Linked DNA regions of Homo sapiens: region 1 is linked to region 2. Evidence: promoter capture Hi-C in human tissues and cell types (Jung and others, 2019). All regions are on one chromosome and are shown on one strand. The core of a region is centred on a gene start or on the middle of the fragment in contact, and the rest is flanking DNA. Distances in the headings are between cores, read along the strand shown.

The links. The method cuts DNA at HindIII sites, captures the fragments that hold promoters and counts their contacts. A contact is called where the count stands out against the background at its distance.
Region 1: a fragment that was not itself captured here is called in contact with the fragment with the promoter of MRO in region 2 in 1 of the 25 tissues and cell types used here (H1 embryonic stem cells).

What each region holds. Positions count from the first base shown.
Region 1 is chr18:50,984,083-50,991,597 of GRCh38, reverse strand. It overlaps ELAC1 (elaC ribonuclease Z 1), which reads right to left. Exons shown (of 4, transcript NM_018696.3): 3 at 7,035-7,502; 4 at 3,477-4,979. The coding sequence ends at 4,513. It overlaps LOC107985152 (a long non-coding RNA gene), which reads left to right. Exons shown (of 4, transcript XR_007066370.1): 2 at 7,258-7,473. Among named protein-coding and RNA genes, the nearest start is that of ELAC1, 20 kb to the right of the region's middle. The HindIII fragment of the contact is 4,113 bases long and covers 991-5,103 here.
Region 2 is chr18:50,815,600-50,822,542 of GRCh38, reverse strand. It overlaps MRO (maestro), which reads left to right and starts at 2,527. Exons shown (of 8, transcript NM_031939.6): 1 at 2,527-2,646; 2 at 2,841-2,962. RefSeq lists enhancers at 2,323-2,372, 2,209-2,842. The HindIII fragment of the contact is 21,582 bases long and covers 1-6,943 here.

The sequences.
Region 1 (7,515 bases), core at 1,798-4,297, 170 kb before region 2:
CACTGCTGCTAGGAGTGTAAAAGAGCATGGAAACCAGTGGGCAATTCCTACCCAGAACCTCCAAAAAGAAGTCAGATTTTCACCCTCAGAGAAATCAATTCTAAGGAAGGAAATACTCAGAGATACAAGGATTTATGCATAAGAATATTCATGATAGTATTATTTATAATAACGGAAAACAATCTCACTGCCTCCAAATAAAAAAACGGTTAAGTGATACTGTATCTATAGAATGCAATAATAGAAAATCATTAAATTCATGCTTTCAGAGAACACTTAATGCCGTGGGGAAATCCTCATAATATGCTAAATGAGAAAAACAGTTGAGGTCAGCCTACATGTAAAAATATACAGGTGTACATGTGTATAATATACACACATACCAACATAGGTAGAAGCACATACAAAATATCTAAACACACGCAAAACTTTTAAAACGCATAGAATAGACAGTTTTTTTCTCCCAATATGGTCTGCCACTCATATACCTCAGAATCACCTTGGGGGCTTATTAAAAATGCAAATTCTTGGGTATTACCCCAGACGTTTGAAAACAGAGCCTAAGTCTTTGAAAACAGAGCCTAAGGATCGCTGTCTACCTACACACCCTGAGTAATTCTCACCCACCCCTCAGTTTGGGGACCACTGGATCAGAAATAACAGCTCTCTGTGGGTGAAGGAATTACGAATAATTGTCTTCTTTTATTGCATCTTAAAAAAATTCTCTACCAAACATACGCTGCTTTTATAATTCAAAGTTCATTAAAAGTGCATTAATGAGGCATGAGTATTAAACAGAGCTGATTTAGGGTCTATCTGGGCAAGTGTAAACAACTTTGGAGAATTAGAACATGCACTTCTTTTTTCTTGCGACGGAGTCTTGCTCTTTCACCCAGGCAGTGCAGTGGTGTGATCTCGGCTCACTACAACCTCCGCCTCCTAGGTTCAAGCGATTCTTCTGCCTCAACCTCCCGAGTAGCTGGGATTATAGGTGCCCGCCACCATGCCCAGCTAATTTTTGTAGAGATGGGGTTTCACCACGTTGGCCAGGCTGGTCTCAAACTCCTGACCTCAAGTGATCCGCCCACCTCGGCCTCCCAAAGTGCTGGGATTACAGGTGAACCATGGTGCCTGGCCACAAGTGTGCATTTTTTAAAATCTAAAATACAGAATGAGACTCTGTCTCAAATAATAATAATAATAATAATAAAATAAAATCTAAAATAAGTAGGTATGTATGGATTCCTTACAATTGAGTCAGTTTAGGACAAAGGAAGTAATACATTAAGTGTAGACATGGAAATCATGAGCTCAATAAATTCTGCAGGTAAAAAACATAAATAGAATAATTTTGCAACGTATGGAGAATGGCATTTCTAAAGTTCCAAGATCTTCCTTGGCAAAAAGAGGATTCAGTAATCAAATAAATTTGGGACACAATACATAATATGGTCACCCTCCCCACTTAAGAGTCAAATCCTTGGGTAGATTACAGGTTCCGAGAAGTCCAATATAAACTTCTTTCTTAATTCTAGCTCCACAAATTCTTAGAATGTCTCTATCACTGAAAACAAATTCTAGCCCAGAAGAGGGTCTAGAAAAAGTTCTCATCATGGACTGATACTCTACACTTGACCCAACATATCGTTTCCACATTCCCATGGCCTCTGAGGGCTTAGCCCATATGTATTTATAGAGCCTGATTCTAAGGGCATGGCTCAAGTCAGCTACCAAGTAATGCTCAGGAACAGCAAAATTCGAGTGCCCAGGATACAAGATTAGAACATGTGAAGCAACTACAGATTTACTTTTTATCTACTGGTCTCTTTCACTAGGCTGTGTGCTTAGGGCTGGAATTTTGCCATTTGTCTATTCATTTATGTACTACCAACACAATAAAGTCTGGCACTTACTTAGTACTCAGTGAATGGGGCACCACCAAAGAGGTGGTGTAAATTCTTTCCGGTAAGTTCAGTAATGAAATGGGCTAGTTTCATTACCATGCACCACCACACCTAGCTAATCTTTGTAATTTTAGTAGAGACGGGGGTTTAGCCACGTTGCCCAGGCTGGTCTCGAACTCCTGACCTCAAGCAATCCATCCACCTTGGCCTCCCCAAGTGCTGGGATTACAGGTGTGAGCCACTGCCCCTGGCCAAGATGGAGTCTTGCTATGTCTCTATGGACTTGAACCCCTGGACTCAAGTGATCCTCTCACCTCAGCCTCCTGAGTAGGTGGCACTACAGGCACACACCACTGCACTCAGCTCTAGGTGGACATTTCTAAGGATGTGGCAGTGACTAAGACATAATAATCTCTATCCTCAGGGGCTTCATGCATTAGAGATACTCATCTGAGCCATTCTAGTCCTAGAGTCCTAGCCTCTTGCACAAGTTTAGGTACATTAGATGTCTAATTAATGCTTATTTGAATTGAATTTAGAAACCATGGCATGCTTTATGCATGATCAAAATTTGGCACTTTTTGCGGGCAGAGTCTATAGTAAGACAGACCATTCTAGAGACTGCATCAGAATGATCATATCTTAAGTAACCAGACCTATTTTGATCATTGTTTTTTGCTTTTTTTTTTTTTTTTTTTTTTGAGAGAGGGTCTTGCTCTGTTGCTCAGGCTGGAGTGCAATAGCATGATCATGGCTTACTGCAGCCTCAACCGCCCCAGGCTCCCACCTTGGCCTCCTGAGTAGCTGGACCACAGGCACACCACCATGCCTGGCTAAGTTTTGTATTTTTTGTAATGATGGGGTTTCACCATGTTGTGCAGGCTGGTCTGGAACTCCTGGGCTCAAGCAATCCGCCTGCCTTGGCCTCCAAATGCTGGGATTACAGGCATGAGCCACTGCCCCCAGCCAATCATCACTACTTTGGAGTCTCCACAACTAGCCAGGAGTCAAAAAATTTGGCCAGAGAAGCCCCAGAACCCAGAGGAAATTGAACAGTAAGTACTACAACAGTGTTTCTAAATATGTGTGCTGTAAAGCTCTCTAGGTTCCTGAGATGTTAACAGGTAGTACCTGGTGAAATAGGACTGAGAAAGGGGTTCAACAGAGCTGACAGGCCTCTGTACTGCAGGATTTCTCAACACCTTCAAGCAATGTGCTATGCTCCTTATATATGTTGTCTTGTTTAACAATCTATGACATAGGTCTTACTGTTTTTCCCATTTTTGAAATGAACAAGCTGAAGAAACTCAGAGAGTGGGTTACCTGCTCCAGACCACACAGAGGTACTACCACATATCAGAGAATGGGACTCTGGGATCAGGTCTTTCTGGCATCAAACACTGGTTTATGATCATTTGAAGCAATACTGTTTTTAGTATGTTGATGGACACTACACCACTCCTAGGAGGACAGACAGCAATAATGTGTTTCCCAAACTGATTTGACTGAGGAGCTCCTCTGAGTGAATCAGCACTGAAGGCTAGCTTTCCATGGAGCATGTTTTAAGAAACATTGTGGGGCAAATAACGTTTATTAATAGGGACACGTCAATGAAACCTCAGTTTAACAGATAAGCATTTTTTACCTCCAGGTTCATAAGCTTCACTTAATGGCTCATTTCTTTTGAATGTTATTTGGTATGACACTGCAATTCTAACACATTCACTCTTTAGGATTTGACTTACCTAGTAATTCCACTCATTATGTCACTAATTTTGGTAAACTATATTCACATCAAGAGTATAAACTAACTTGCTGTGTATCTCAATGGGCCTGCAATTTGCATTTCGGGGTGAGATGATTCTTTATTGTATATGACTGACCAAAACTTTGCAGGACAGCTAACATCCCTTATCCCTGCTGACTAAATACCAGTAGTAGTAGTACCACCACTACCACCACCGTACTCAGTCACTGTGACAAGAAAACATACCCATAATTTCAAACCTGCTTCTAGAGGAGCAGTGTCACCCCAGCTGAGAACCATGGGTTAAGACCCAAATAGAAAGTTTAATAAAATGTTAAAATAAACACCTAGCCAAACCCTGCATTCAGTATTCCAGCAAAGCTATGGTCATGCTATCATCAATCCTGCCTGTCCAACGTCTCATGACATTTCTCCCTCTTCTGTTAATAACACAAACAGATTCAATACAAACTGCCAAAATACCATTTTTAGCCACGAGGGCTGAGTCCTGTGCTCTTTGCCAATAGCAGCAATAAAGCTGGGCAGAAGCTAAGCCCAGGACTGCATGGAATATTGGCTATCTGTGGTAGTAGCACAAAATAAGATGTATAACTGAATAGTCTATCATTTTGACAAATCTGGACTTCAAAAAGGATGCTGGGTTTTTTTTCTCTTAAAAAGATTTATTATCAAAAAGTTTGCTCCCTTTAAATACTGAGCCAATTCATCAATGCAGCTCCATTCTTTTTAGGATTATTAGGGCCCAAATAATTTCAGACTAAAACAAGAAATAAAAAAACTGGACTATAGGTTCAGTAACATATTCACAGACATGTCAGTGTGCACTCAGGAACACTGGTTTCATTTCTTGATTGGAATGCTTATCACCATAAAATCTTCTGCTAGAGTCACTTCTTGGAGATCTAACACTGATTCAGCTTGCTTTTTTAGTTCTGCAATGCCATCTGTTTCTCCTTCTCTGGCCAAGGCAACTGGTTTGTACCTCTGACTGAAGTGAGTCAGAACCAGCCTCTTTGCACGGCACAACTTTGCAAATGTTGCTGCCATCTGTGGTGTGCTGTGGCCATGCTCCTTTGCTTTGTCCATCTGGGCATCATCCAGGGTTGCTTCGTGGATCAACAGGTCTGCTTCAAAGCACAGTTTTACTCCTCCATCACCCACAACCCCAGAGCAGTCACCCAATATGCAGATTTTTCTTCCAACAATAGGCTTTTTTAAGACATCTTGGGGAGAAATTGTAACCCCATTTTCCAGAACAACAGAAATTCCATTTTTCAGCTTCCCATAGGCAGGACCTGGTGGAACACCTAATGATGAAGGCAGATAACATTACATCATAGGAATGGAATTTATGACTTTTCAAGAGTCTATTTTAACAGCATTGCAAATAGCTAATGGAAAAGGCATCCATAATTGTTATAAATGTTTTACTACTTGTGGAAAACTGGATTTATACATTTTTAAAATTTCAGTGTTGATTGATATTAGCAATGCCTTAGTACTTGAAACATTTCCCATGCATACATGTCAGACAAGTTTTAGTCTCCTAAGTATCACTAGGACCTTATTGTAGTCACTGTAACATTCTTGATTCTCTGCTGTGCACAGAAACAACAGTTTTTGAGAGTGCTTTATTTAATAAGCTCACCTTTGGGTAAAATTTGAGAGTGTATTTAAATAGTGATATAGTCAGGCTGGGTGCACTGGCTCATGCCTGTAATCCTAGCATTGTGCGAGGCCGAGGCAGGTGCAGTGGTGCACACCTGTAGTCCCAGCTATATGGGAGGCCAAGGCACAAGAATTGCTTTAACCCAGGGGGCAGAAGTTGCAGTGAGCGAGCTGAGATCACACCACTGCACTCCAGCCTGGACAACAGAGTGAGACTGCCTCAAAAAAAAAAAAAAAAAAAAAAAAGATATAATCAACACCTAGTCAAAACAAGTACCTACAAAGTAACTTAATAAAAAAATTGTTAGCAGGATTGTTTGTATTACAAGATCAAGGAGCATTTTTTCAGGCAATTGTACATTATTAGTCTTCTTGGCAGACAGGGGCAGTTCCACATTTATCAAAGTGGGCTTAAATCTCGTATTAATTTAAAGTAAGACCTGATCATCACTATGGACAATACTTACAAACTAGTATAGTATGACCACCAATTCCAACACAGATCATGTTTAAAGTTTCCAAATATAATAGTATTTCCACAGGCTTTCAGGTAATAAAAATATCCTTGGCCTAAGTCACTTTTCCTCATTATCTAGCATTTTGTTTTAGTTGAGGAAGAGATCACATAAATAAAAAAACAAACACACACAAAATGCCACTGTGCTTTTTACAGGCACTGCCACAGCATGCCTGTGAAGGCAGTGACACTGGAGATATAATGTACCTGGACTCTACCTCACAAGAGGTGCTGAAAAGATCCCCTCATGCATGCTGGCTTAGCGCTTAGCATAGAGGAGGTGTGAAGCCTTAGATGGGCCCCAAGCCCACCTCTGTATGCTTGCTTTCAACTACGATGAACCCTGATATCTAAAACTGGTTGAGGCACAGGGTTTTGAATACCAAATTAATTTAATCAAGGTTAAATTAGTAAGCAAAGTAGATACAGAAGTAAACTCTGAAAGCACATGGTTGCAGTTGTAAGGTTAAGAACGATGGCAAAAATTCTCAGACCGAAGATGTCATCAAAAACACGTATCAAAGGGAAGACATGAAAAAATAAAGCCTGGACCTAAAACCACCACCACTACCACCCAAATCACCTTGCCAACCAAGATAGTATAAGGTGAAGACAGACTAAGAATGTGGATCCAGGGAGATGAAGACAGGATTCAAATGTATACTTGGGTTTTGCTCTAAATAGCATTTTTTGGCCCCATGGATTTTCCTTAATAAGCAAACTTTGGACAAAGGGACTAAGTGGAGAAATTGTCAGTTTCAGGCCTGGGATAGAGGAGTGGAAGCTTACTATGACACTTTTTTTTTTTTGAGACAGAGTTTCGCTTTGTCACCCAAGCTGGAGTATAGTAACACTATCTTGGCTTACTGCAGCCTTGACCTCCCAGGTTCAAGTGATCCTCCTGCCTCAGCCCCCCAAGTAGCTGGGACTACAGGCACATGACACCACACCCAGTTACTTTTTGTATTTTTAGTAGAGATGGGGTTTCGCCATGTTGCCCAGGCTGGTCTTGAACTCCCGAACTCAAGTGATCCTCCCACCTCGGCCTCCCAAAGTGCTAGGATTACAGGCGTGAGCCACAACTCCTGGCCTTACTATGACATTTCTTATAGCTTCAGTCAACAGGAGCCCTATTGATGAGAAGGCGGGAAAAAACAAAAAACAAAAAAACACTTACCAAGGTCTTTAAGTTTCTGTGCATTGAGTTTACCTGGGCGTTTCTTTTCCACGACTGAAAACCCAAATGAGGGAATTCTGTGAAAGAGGCGAAATGCTTTTACAACAAATTGTTCATCATCAAACAGAAGGTATGAGTTTTCTTCTGAGTCTAACAGGATAGTTCTTCCTTGTTCCTCTTTGGGAGGACTGTCTGCTCTATTCACATGCGCAAATTCTTTTAGTTCTTCTGCAGGACATTGATCTGCTGTAGGAACCAGTTCATGAACCACATAATGGAAGACCAGCTCCGTGTGAGAGAGTTCCATGGTTCGCCAGATAAAGTCCCGAAGCCCTACAGGGCCATAGATTTCAATAGGCTGTTTGGACACCATGGAGCCACTCTGCAGGCTGATTGTGCAGAGGAGCCCAGGAAGGCCAAAGAAATGGTCTCCATGAAGGTGTGTGATGAAGATCTTGGTAATTCTCCCTTTTGATTGAGA
Region 2 (6,943 bases), core at 1,278-3,777:
AACATGGTGAAACCCCGTCTTTATCAAAAATACAAAAATTAGCCGGGTGTGGTGGCAGGCGCCTGTAGTCCCGCTACTCGGTAGGCTGAGGCGTAAGATTCGCTTGAACCTGGGAGGCGGAGGTTGCAGTGAGCCAAGTTCCCCCCACTGCACTCCAGCCTGGCTGACAGAGTGAGACCCTGTCTCAAAAATAAAATAAAATAAACTAAAAAAGATAAATTTCCTGATTACACATTGTAATACACATGTAATTCACATACAAGGTGAATTGTGGATTGCTTTAGCTTTGCCTGTTGCCCTTTTCATCAGTAATGCAGGCTAAATAATTACCCTCTTTGCTTTTTCCAGTTGTGCCAGCCCCAGTGTACTTCTGGCAATAAGGAAATGTTAATTGAGAATGAAAATAGAGTCATTAAATCCTTACATTAAATAATTATGGTGTGTTCTTTTAAGGACATCATGTTATAGATATGCAAATATGTTGCAATCAAATTATCAAACTTGCCCTCTAATTTCCAAAGAACTGTACTGTGACCCAGGGCCACATAAGGAGAATCTTAGACTCTTGTGGGCATCATGCGTTGATTTTGATGCTTCCCAAGTTTGTGCTGTGTCTGGGATTCTCTAGGGGCAGTTAGCTGCATCCAGGCCGTTTATGAGAAGTGTTTAGTAGAGCTGAGGTCAGCACAGTGCAAGTATCAGAAAGGCTCCTGGATATCAATTCCAGTTCTGGCCCTGATGTTCTTTGTAGTTTTAAGTCAAACAGGAAAATTTATCTGCATATTAGTTCTCCTATTTAACAGTAGAGAAGATACTATTTCTCTGTCAAATATCTTAAAACATGAATACAAAGAAACTTTAGACACAAGGGGTTATTAATAGTTTGTTGTGTTTCTGTTCATGGGGAGGAGGGGATGTAAATTTCAGTTCTGATTCACAAAGGAGATTTTGCAGAGAATCTTTACAATCATACTTTGGGCTTCCTTTCTCCAGTCTCCTCTGTTCTTCGGATAATCTTATTACCTTTTTGGTCATTCTAAGCACTACATGGATTAGTTCAGTATATAGATTATGGCCGTATAAACCTCATTCTCGCTCTTGGCAGATAACCTAACTCTGGTTTTACTGAAAAGATTAAAGCTAATTTGGAAGAATTGAACTCGCCCATTCCTCTCAGTTTTGTGTTGATGTATCTTCATCTCTGTGGCTGCCTCCCAGTTGCAGGCAGAGGCAGCCATCTTTCTTCCTCCTCCAGAGCTAACCCTTTCCCTCGTGCCCTTGATGCCCCCTCCACCTCTTCCTATTACCACTACTTGGCACCAGCCACATATTAGGGCTCCCTTGCAACCACTTTCAAACAAGGCCAGGCTTTATTCCATTTCAAAAAGCACACAAGAAAACCAAAATGCTTTTGCCTGACCTTGCTGTCTCTTCTAGTCTATTTATTGCTTTCCTTTTGCAGCAAGACATCTCAATTTCCTCTTTCCTCATAGCCCCTTAGTTTTGCAGTCTAGCTTCCTTTCTCTGTCACTCTATTGAAATTGTGTCCTCAAATGTCACAGTGGTTCCCTTGTAACTTAATCTGAAGAGGGTGGTGTTTTAGCCTCATTCTTCTTATTTTCTCAGCAGCATCGATTTTCTTTCTGCCTTTTTCTTTCATCTTCCACTCTGACATAGTTCTCTGGTTTATATTTTTCTGTTTATCTCCTGGGTTTTCTAGACCAGTCCAGTGCATAGCATCATGGCTGAGTCCAAGCTCTTACATTAGCCTGCCTGTAGCTGAATTTTAACTGCCACAAATTAACTGCATGACCTTTGTCAAGGTAATCTCCCTGTGCCTCAGTTTCTCCAGCCTTAAAATGGAGACTATAGTAGGAGTATTAACCTTTGGTTTGATGTAACAATTGAATGAGATAGTCTATGTAATATTTATCACAACATTTGGCACACAGAAGTTTTAATTGAATGTTATCTATTAGCATAACAATAAGTGCCTCTGTCTTTGAAAATATAACTGTTCTTTTTTCCTTTCAGGACATATTTTCTCCCTTTATGACCCAATGCAGAGCGAGACGATAACTAATTATTGTTAAATAGATTTATGCACGTGTTTGGAGAGTCAGGGAAGGAGGGCTGATGAGAGAGAGAGGCTCCTAAATTCTGCAGGTGCTGTAATTCCCCGGTTTTAATTTTGCTTTGCTTTTTACCAATAAATCATTTTGAGAGCTTAAATCGCTCCTTTCGGGACATACGGTGTTTCTTGAGCAGGAAGGGACGTCAACGGTTAAAGCTCTTGTTGTTGGTGCAACAATCAGCCACGATGAGGCTGCTTGGCATGGAACACAGTGTCCCATCCTTAGATTAAATGCGCTCTAACAGGATTATGTAAGGAAGGAGGCAGCCACGGCGGCGGCTTTGTGCAGGGGTCGCCTGGAACCCGTCCATTGAGTCATGCCGCCATCTCGCGGCCGCATGGGGAACGGGCCTTGGCAGGGAGGTTTTGTTTGGTGCAGAGGAAAGGTCCCCAGAATTGCCATCTGCAGAATTTCTGCAGAAAGTGTCGACCAGGCTGGCATGAGGGAAGAAGGAGGGGAAATCACAGCAAGGAGAAGGAAAAACACCTCAGCATGGCGTGGGGAAGCAAAGGTAGCAAGTCATGCTTGTGCCACCCTACAATATTCTTGTCGGTTTCATTCCAGAACAATTCCCTCCCCTGCCCAAATACTCTATAAACTTTGACTTTCCCCTCTTATTTGATTCTCACTTTCCAACACTCTGTGCCGACCCGTTATCCTGGACAGACCCTGCGTCACCTCCTAATTTCCCTTCTTGTATGTTAGGAATTCAGGGCTGGGAAAATTTAGCCGAGTCATCACATTTGGCTACTACCCGGGAAAGCAGCCCTCCCGAGTCAGGAACGGGCTCCGGTTCATCACGTGGCAGCCGCCTGCAGGAGCCGCAGGTAAGGGACACTGTTGGCCGGGGCAGCCAGATGCAGCGGGAGGCGTCCTGGCTGCACTTGGGTTCCCAAAACCTTTCTGGAATGTCACTCTGGTCACCAGTATGGGAGCTCGACCTCTAGGGGGTAGGATTTGGTAATGTTCTCTTTGTAAAACTGAAGTGGGCAATGTTGACCAGGAAGCTGATTTTGTTTGCTTTTCACAAACTATGTTAATCGATCAATAGTTGGGTTATAGATCATTCTATTGTCAGCAATATAATAGAATGGCAGGGACTCAGGGAAGATATTGACACTTTAAACTGAAATGTCTATGCGGTCTGTCTTCCCTCGTTCAGCTCACAGGACATTGCCTGGGAGCTGAACCTAGGCTTATAGCACAGTGACTGAAAGGATATCTTTCAGAGTCCTAAAATCTGCTCTGCCAGTATTTGACTTTGAGTTAATTGTTCAACATTACTTTAAGCCCAGTTTCTTCTTTTCTAAAATGAAGACGATTTTTTTAATATTAATTTTTTTTTTCATTTTTTTGAGACAGGGTCTTGTTGTGTTGCCCAAGCTGGGGTGCGGTGGCCCGATCTCGGCTCACTGCAACCTCTGTCTCCTGGGTTCAAGTGATTCTTCTGCCTCAGCCTCCTGAGTAGCTGGGACTACAGGTGTGCACCACCATGTCTGGCTAATTTTTGTATTTTTAGTAGAGGCGGGGTTTCACCATGTTGCTCAGGCTGGTCTTGATCTCCTGACCTCAAGCAATCTGCCTGCCTCAGCCTCCCAAAATGCTGGGATTTATAGGCATGAGCCACCACACGCAGCCTACTATTGTCATTTATAAGTTCAGTGTTGGAAGGATTTTTAAGCAATCTAACAGTTTCTTCTGCTCATTTTACAGATGAGATAAAATCAAAGTGTTTTATAATTTTGGCCTTCATAATATACCTTTTGGCTTCAATAAATAAAAGGATTATTGACCAAAAATCTAATATTTTGAGTCAGAATCATTCAAGTTTGCAAAAGCAGATGGGAGTCAGTGTAAAGCATAAAACAGTCTTCTAAGTTACCCCAAATCCATGTATCTTCAGTAAGATCAGGTAGAGCACAACCTGGCAATGAACACAAGCCCCAGCCGGGGTCTTGGGGTTCGTGAAAACCAAGGGGTCTGCACATAGCTCACTCAGGGGTATGTTCCAGAGGAAGAAGAATTCGTTGAAGAACGTGTGCAGAGATGAGTAAAACTATAAGCAGAGCTGTGTCTTTGGCTTCCAAATGGCCAGGTGACCTCCTGGTCTTGGTCATACAAGGCTAGGCATATGTGGTGACCATAGAAACCCACCAGAAAATGTAATTCTCCTAGGAAAGAATGCCTGTCTTACGGGTGAGAGGGCTTGGAGAAGGAGTTAGAACATCCTAAGAAATCTTGGAATCTGTATACTACGTTCATTCACAGTGTGTTTAAAACGATCCTCTCTGAGATCCTGTGTTGCAACAGATGAGAATGATCCTTTTGTTTTTGTTGGATTGGGTGTAAAGGACTTCATGTTTTAGAAAGGAGGGAGGCACTGCAGGCAGGAAGGAGGGCATGGGGCGGGGGGTGGGAGTTCTTTAAGAAGCTGCAAGTACAAGAAACACAAGGCTCCAGCGAGGGGCCTTGTGACCTTGATTTAACTCCTAATTTGTTTTATTTTTTAATGAAACTTTTAACTGAAGAATAGCATCCTAGAAAAGTTGCATAAATCATAGACAAACAGCTGCTGTGATTTTAATTTTATTTTTAAAGTGAAATTCAAAGTGCTTCACAAACATATGGTATCAATCTCTTGTTCTCTGCAAAGACACTGACCTCTTTCTCTTTCTCATCCCTCGGCCCCAGCTCCCTCCCTGACTTCCATGGTTTCTGCTACTGCATGGGCTCGGATTAGCTTTATTTAATTTCCAGGATAGAGGTTCTTCTATACCAACAGGCGTGTAGCATCACCAGGCACCACATACAAAAAGTGCAATGCTCAGGCCCGACACTCCCTGAGATTCAGATCCAATAATTCTGGGGCAGGCCTGGAGTTTATTGTTATTATTATTATTTATTTTTATTTTTTAGAGACAGGATCTTGCTCTGTCAACCCAGCTGGAGTGCAGTGGCGCAATCATGGCTTACGGCAGCCTCAGACTCCTGGGCTCAAGGGATGCTCAGCCTCCCAAAGTGCTGGGATTACAGGTGTGAGCCACTGCACCCACCTCTGGCTTGGAGTTTGTAACACGTACCCCGGGGAATTCTGATATAGAAGGTGCAACCAACACTGAGAAATGCTCTACTTTTCCTGCACCCAAGATTGAGATGATCCCTGACAACCTGTAAGATTAAACCACATCACAGTTTTTCTCTTGTGATGGGGAGGTAGGGTTTGCTAGAAGAGGTAGTGAGCTCAAGATGTAACTCTGTGAGTTTCTCTAATCACAGATCGAATCTTCCAGGTGGAGCCACTCAGTTCTCATTTACTTTGCCGTGCATGGGAGCATGACCTTGAGTTCTACTTACGCCTATGAAGGCGATGCTGGCTGCTTGGTTTCTGAAGCCTGGGGAAGTTGCCTTGGCTGGCTAAAGCCCTTAGCTGTTATGCTAATCTTGCAAGAGAAGTCAAGCAGAAAGAACAGGGTAGCAGGTTTGTTTTCTTTACCAATGGAAAGGAGCTTCAGGCATGATTTTCTTATGCCTTGGAACAGAGATACCAGCTGTTTTATAATGAGGCCCACACCCTCCTTGGTGAGTGGGCCCTCAGCTTGAGGGAGTTTTGCTTCTTTTATTTTGATTTTGAAATTTGAGATTTTTTCATTTGAAGGTAATCTTAATGCTATTAAATTCATAAATATGCTAATTTAAATACCCAATCCTATTTATTTAAAATAGACGTTGCAAGCGTACAAATATTCTCTCCACATGTCAGCACCCATTTAGATCATGGTTTGGAAATGGGGAGAATAGAATTCCCTTAAACTGCAAGTCAGCTGGTGTTTCTTTACAGCTAACGTTAGCAAAATTTATGCAAAGCAGTAATTCACAATGATCTTCTTTATTTGTTAACCCACAAGGAAACACCCTCAAAACTATTCTGTTAAAGTGTCTGTTCAGAAATGTGGAAAAACTGAACTATATAAATATTGAAAAGTTAAAAATTCCTTAATTTTTTATTCTTGGAACCACTACCACAATTTACAGGGCAATATACCTGATGTAATGAAAAGAAAAAGAAAAAGAAAAAGCTATAGCAGATAAAAGACCATAGGGATGTTCATCTAGCCAATGCTACATTGCATTATCAATAGCTGCACTTTTTGCAAACTGTGGCTATGACAGTCCTGAACAAGAAAGGTTTTCTGTTTAAGCTGCAGTAACTTTTCTAACTATGTATCATCGTTTCTTCCGTGGCAGATTTTTAGTTCCTAATGCATTTGGGACAACTGTTTCAAGGTAACTTGCTGCTTTCCCAAAACTTCTTGTTCTTTCTCCTGCTAAGAACTGTATCCCTTTTCTGCTGTTTTTATTTTTTTATTTTTTTTGGAGACAGAGTCTCACTCTACCCCCCATGCTGGAGTGCAGGGGCATGATCTTGGCTCATTGCAACCTCTGCCTCCCGGGTTCAAGCGATTCTCGTGCCTCAGCCTCCCAAGTAGCTGGGATTACAGGCACCCGCCACCATGCCCAGCTAATTTTTGTATTTTTAGTAGAGACGGGGTTTCACCATGTTGACCAGACTGGTCTCGAACTCCTGACCTCAGGTGATCTGCTCACCTCGGCTTCCCAAAGTGCTGGGATTACAGGTGTGAGCCACCGTGCCCAGCCTTCTTTTCTGCTGTTTTTAGAACCTTCTGTTACCATATCCACCATTTCCACTACCAGATCCATAACGGTCACCACAGGGACTGCCTGAACTTCTTCCACCAAAACTGCCCCCTTTCATGCATTCATAATTTGATCGCTGTTTCCAAGATCAT